Regions from separate parts of the Homo sapiens genome. Here region 1 is linked to region 2. The links are contacts of gene promoters, found by promoter capture Hi-C in human tissues and cell types (Jung and others, 2019). All regions are on one chromosome and are shown on one strand. The core of a region is centred on a gene start or on the middle of the fragment in contact, and the rest is flanking DNA. Distances in the headings are between cores, read along the strand shown. Region 1 overlaps FBXL20 (F-box and leucine rich repeat protein 20). Region 2 holds the start of FBXL20 (F-box and leucine rich repeat protein 20).

Evidence for each region. The method cuts DNA at HindIII sites, captures the fragments that hold promoters and counts their contacts. A contact is called where the count stands out against the background at its distance.
Region 1: a fragment that was not itself captured here is called in contact with the fragment with the promoter of FBXL20 in region 2 in 1 of the 25 tissues and cell types used here (adrenal gland).

The regions. Positions count from the first base shown.
Region 1 is chr17:39,356,152-39,358,941 of GRCh38, reverse strand. All of the region lies in intron 1 of FBXL20 (F-box and leucine rich repeat protein 20), which reads left to right. Among named protein-coding and RNA genes, the nearest start is that of FBXL20, 44 kb to the left of the region's middle. The HindIII fragment of the contact is 4,338 bases long and covers 1-2,790 here.
Region 2 is chr17:39,400,350-39,403,186 of GRCh38, reverse strand. FBXL20 (F-box and leucine rich repeat protein 20) reads left to right here and starts at 1,561. Exons shown (of 15, transcript NM_032875.3): 1 at 1,561-1,826. The coding sequence starts at 1,785. RefSeq lists silencers at 412-576, 542-931, 1,182-1,261, 1,292-1,491, 1,522-1,951 and 1 more. The HindIII fragment of the contact is 13,208 bases long and covers 1-2,837 here.

The DNA.
Region 1 (2,790 bases), core at 95-2,594, 44 kb after region 2:
TATCGGTCCCTTGTATATTTTCTTTGGTGAAACGTCTGAATATTCAAGCCTTTTGCCCATTTTTTAGTTGGATTGTTTTTTGTTTGTTTTTCAGTTTGTAGGATTTCTTTATATACTCTGGGTGTTAACTCCTGAGATAGATATTTGCAAATATTTTCTCCTAATGTGTAGGTTGTCTTTTCATTCTGTTGATAGTGTTGTTATTGTTTCTACTGAGAGGTGTTTTTTTTGTTTGTTTTTTTGTTTTTTTGTTTTTTTTTGAGACAGAGTCTCACTCTGTTGCCCAGGCTGGAGTGCAGTGGTTTGATCTCAGCTCACTGCAACCCCCACTTCCAGGGTTCTAGTGATTCTCCTGCCTTAGCCTCTGAGTAGGTGGGATTACAGGCGTACGCCACCACGCCCGGATAATCTTTGTATTTTTAGAAGAGACAGGGTTTCGCCATGTTGGCCAGGCTGGTCTCAAACTCCTAACTTCAAGTGATCCACCCACCTCAGCCTCCCAAAGCGCTAGGATTACAGGCATGAGCCACTGCTCCTGGCCTTATATGCCATCTTGAGAAGGCTAAGGGATGCCCGAATAGCTAGTAAAACATTATTTCTGGGTGTGTCTGTGAGGGTGTTTGTGGAAGAGGTTAGTATTTAAATCAGTAGACTGAGTAAAGAAAGATCCGCCCTCACCAGTGTGGGCCAGCATCATCCAATCAGCTGAGGGCCTGAATAAAACAAAAAGGTGGAGGAAGGGAGAATACTGCCTCTCCTTGAGCTGAGACATTCATTTTCTCTTTTCCTTGGACATCAGAGCTCCTGTTCTGGCCTTTGGACGCTGGTAATACTGCCTCACCTCCACTTCTGGTTCTTAGTTAGGCCTTTGGACTCTGACTGGATTACATTATAAGCTTTCTGTGAGACAGTTCTTATAATAAATCTCTTCATATGCATATGTATGAGAAGAGTTTATATATATGTAATTGTTTCTGTTTCTCTGGAAAACCTGAACTAATACTTTGTTCAAAAGTTGAGGCAAAATAAAAACGTTTCCAGATAAGCAAATACTGAGAGAATTTGTTAGCAGGCTTGCCTTACTAAAGGAAGTACTTCAAGCTGAAATGAAACGCTATGGTACCAGATGGTAACTTGAAGAAAAAGAAGAGCAGAAGTTAATTTCAGAGGTAAATATGAACGACAATAAGTAAATGTTTCTTTTATTATCTTGACTGAATTAAAGGCATTTGCCAGCTGGGCATGGTGACTCACCTGTAGTCGCAACACGTTGGGAGGCTGAGGCAGCTTCGCTTGAGCCCCAGAAGTTGGAGGTTGCAGTGAGCTATGTTTGTGCCACCGCACTCTAGCCTGGGTGACATAGTAAGACACTGTCTCAAGAAATAAAGGGGGTTTCGCGTAAGATGATAATTATAAAACTGTTTAAGATACCAGAAGGCAATATAAAAGGAACAGAAGAACAAAAGATATGAGACAGAGAAAACATACAGAATGAGAGGCATGCCTAACAGTGACAGTGAATTGTTGACATAAAGATATATGTATAGATTAATGGAACAGTATTGAGAGTCTAGAAATAATGCCAACATTTATGGTCAAGTGATATTTGATTAAGGTACTAAAGCAATTCAACTGGGCAAAAAAAGTCTTTTTTTTTTTTTTTTTTGAGACAGAGTTTTGCTCTTGTTGCCTAGGCTGGAGTGCAGTGTGGCACGAACTTGGCTCACTTCAACCTCCTCCTCCCGGGTTCAAGTGATTCTCCTGCCTCAGCCTCCCAAGTAGCTGGGATTACAGACATGCAGCACCACGCCCGGCTAATTTTGTATTTTTAGTAGAGACGAGGTTTCTCCATGTTGGTCAGGCTGGTCTCGAACTCCCAACCTCGGTGATCCACCCGCCTTGGCCTCCCAAAGTGCTGGGATTACAGGCATGAGCCATTGGACCCAGCCCCATTTGCTTTAAAGACTATTTCAAATGGGGCTGGGTACGATAGCTCATGCCTGTAATCCCAGCACTTTGGGAGGTCAAAGTGGGAGGAGCTCTTGAGTTTAGGAGTTTAAGACTAGCCTGGGCAACATAGTGAGACCTTGTCTCTACTGCAAAATTAAAAAAAAAAAAATTAGCCAGGTGTGGTGGCACGCACCCGTAGTTCCAGCTTCTCAGGAGGCAGAGGTGGTAGAATTGCTTGAGCCTGGGAGGTCAAGGCTGCAGTGAGAGGTGATTGCACCACTGCACTCCACCCTGGGTGACAGAGTGATACCCTGTCTCAAAACAAACACAAATGTAGGCCGAGCGCAGGGGCTCATGCCTATAATCCTAGCCGCCTGGGAGGCCAAGGCAGACAGATTGCTTGAGTCCAGGAGTTCAAGACTATCCTAGGCAACATGGCGAAATCCCGTCTCTATAAAATATAGAAAAAATAGCTGAGCGTGGTGATATGTACCTGTAGTCCCAGCCACTTGGGGGGCTGAGATGGGATGATCACTTGAGCCCAAGAAGTTGAGGCTGCAGTGAGCCATGATTGTGCCACTGTACTCCAGCCTCAGTGACAGAGTGAAACCCTGTCTCAAAACAAAACAGATGGTGGTGAAACAATTGTATATCTGCATGCAGACAGATGAAGTTGTGCTCTCACCTCATACCACATATGATAATTAACTCAAAATGGATCTTAGACTTAAGTGTATAAGCTAAAACTATAAAACTTTTTTTTTTTTTTTTTTTTTTGAGATGGAGTCTCGCTCTGTCGCCTAGGCTGGAGTGCCGTGGCACAATCTCAGCTCACTGCAA
Region 2 (2,837 bases), core at 312-2,811:
AAAAAAAAAAAGAAAAAGTTTGTACAGTGCTTTAAGAGTTGGGTAATATGTCCTCCAGCTAAAATATACCTGTTCTTAAAGATCTGCCGCACTTGTTGCTCTTGTTAATTTCTTAGACGCATAACAAGTCAGTCGCTAAAACCACTAATTAAAAGGGGTGTGAGGAAGACCAACTCATAACTGCTTTGGAAGCATACAATTAGCAGTGCTGCTGCTCCTGCCAGGTGTGCTGGAATTTATTATACAGTTTCTAATAGTTCACTCTTAGGACATAATTTTGTAGTTTGTTGCTCATAGAAGGGGCAACAAAACTACAAAATCCTGTGTTATTCCTTCGTGGAAATTCGGTCATAAATTCTGAGACCTTGAAGGCCAGAGTTGTTAAAACATAATATAATATGATGACACAGATCAGCTTCTATACAAGGAGCCCGGGAGTCTGATGAAGTGTTTCCATCGGGAAAACGCCCCCGCCTACTCGCTCACACACGCTTGTTTCTCCCGCCAAAGTGACGTCAGGCCGAAGCTCTCACCAAACAGCGCCCTGATTGGCGGACAGGCAGGCGCTGCAGCCCATTGGGCGCCGGCGGCGGCCGAGCAAGGAAAACCAAAGGCTCTTCGGTCTCGCCCGCCCCACCCCCACGGACGCGCGCCCCGACCCCGGCCAAAGGAAGGGTTGCCCGGCTCCAGCCCTGCACCCCCGACCCCCGGCCTCAGGTGCAGCTCCGCAGCCATCCCCGGACCAGGGCGGGCACTTGGCCTGTTGCTCAGCGCAACCACCCTCGCCCTCCCGAGCCATGCACAGGGAGACAAGCGTCCGGCCCCGGCCCCCCAGGCCTCCCTGCAGCACCCCGTAATGTAATGCACTGGGGCGGGGGAGGCGGGGGAGGCGGCGGCGGCGGCAACCGCGGAGGCGCGGCGGCAGCCGCACTGCCCCAATCTAGACACATCCAGAAGAGGAGGAAAATGGCTCCGAGCAGGGACCGCCTGCTGCACTTTGGGTTCAAGGCGACAGTGAGTGACAGGGGAAGGGAGCTGGGTGGCCGGGAAGGATGCGGGTGCCTTACAGGATCCTGGGGAACAAGTGACGAGGGGCGACGGGCGCGGGCAGAGGCTGAGGTTCTGTGCAGGCAGGTGCGTGCCTGTTTGCCCGCGGAGGGAGGAGAGGGGGACACGGGGCAGAAGAGGGGCCCCCGCGCAGAGTGCGGTACTGCTCTACTCTCCCTCGCTGGTCCGCGAGCACGCGCGCACTCGCATCCGCCCCACAGACCCCCTTTTCCACACGCACAGGCACTTCCCTGCCTCGCCTTCTCCCGATGGGCTCGTCTGCCTCGGAGGCGCAGGGGGTCGTGCCGCCGCCGCGCACCGGCTGCTCCCGGGAGCGCCGTCAGGGCCGGCCCCGTGTGGGGGAGGGGTGGTCTCGCGCCGCCGCCGCCGCGCTCCTCCCCTCCCGCCCCTCCCCCTCCCGGGCGCTCCGAGGCCCGGGCGGCTCTGTCCAATGAGCAGCGGCGTTGCTGGCAGGTGGGGAGTGTTTTTGTTTTGGGTTGAAGTTGAGGCTGAGGAGAGAGCCGAGCTAGCGACGAGCAGTCGTTGCGGCCGCCGGCGCCGCGGGAGGTGGTGGAGGCCTAGCCGGAGCCGAGAGGTCTCTTGTTCCCGTCCCACGGTCCCGGCGTCACCCCTCCGGCGCCCAGTCCCCGTCCCGGAACTCCCGGGCCTGTCCTGGGCCCCCGGTCTGTGCACTCCGCTCGCCGCAGCGCCCGGCCCGGGCCGCACCCGCCGGCCCCATGAGGAGGGACGTGAACGGAGTGACCAAGAGCAGGTTTGAGGTGTGAGCTTGGGGGGCTCGGGCGGCGTGAGGAGGGCGGGTCGCGCGCTCTAATCCCAAAACGTCCGCTCCGCACGGAGCCTCCTCCCTGGCAGGCGCCGTCACCCACCCACTGGCGGGGCTGCCAGACTCCGCTCCCCTTTCTTGCGACCCAGAAGCCCAGCGCAGCCCGGTGCCCCCAGTCCCCTCGCCGGTTCGCCCCCCGTCTCTTCCCACCAGCGGGCCCCCGCGGGGGATTAGCTCGGGCGCCCTAATTCCACCCTCCTCCAGGATCGCTCAGCTTTCCATTCTTTACACAACCCTTGGCTTGCCTCCTTCCACCCAGCCATCACGGCTCCGGTCCACCAGAGCCTGCTGCTTTTCTCGCTGCTACCTTCATGACGCGTTTGTTGTCTGTTGAGGGAGGAAATTAGGGGATGGGTACCATTTCTCCGAGTTTGAGACCTTGGTGAAACTAGGGAAGTGGGGACGGTAGTTTGGGATGATAGAGGCTACCACGGGTTTTCGGTGCTGTGTTTGGTTTGGGTATTGTTCTGATACTTCCTCTGCTTTCCCGTTTAGTCTGTACTTCTGTAGCTCATTGTTCCTTGGGAACCCTTGGATGTCTACATGCTTTGAGATTGGGACGAAAGTTCAGCAAATCCATTCCGGTCTGTCTTTCAGGAACTTTTTCTCCTCTAGCGAGGGAGGTTTACTGTCCTGGAATTGAGGAGTGGACGGTCTTGAAAGCGTCTTTAGAGAGTAGTCATCTTGCAAGGAAGAGATTCCTTTGGGAAGTGAAATATTGTAACTACTGATGAATTACAGTAGTATAACAATATACTGGAAGGTTCCTTGAGGGTCAAGAGAAAGAAACTTCTACAGGAAGAGTAAATGTCACCTGGTCTTTTCTGGCAGAGAACCAGGCTGACCTGGGATCACTCACAGCTCAGTGGACAATCTCACTCGGTGTTTTTCTTCATCTCCATTTGAGAGATGAAATTGTAAGACGGCGAGACAAAAGTTTAAGAAA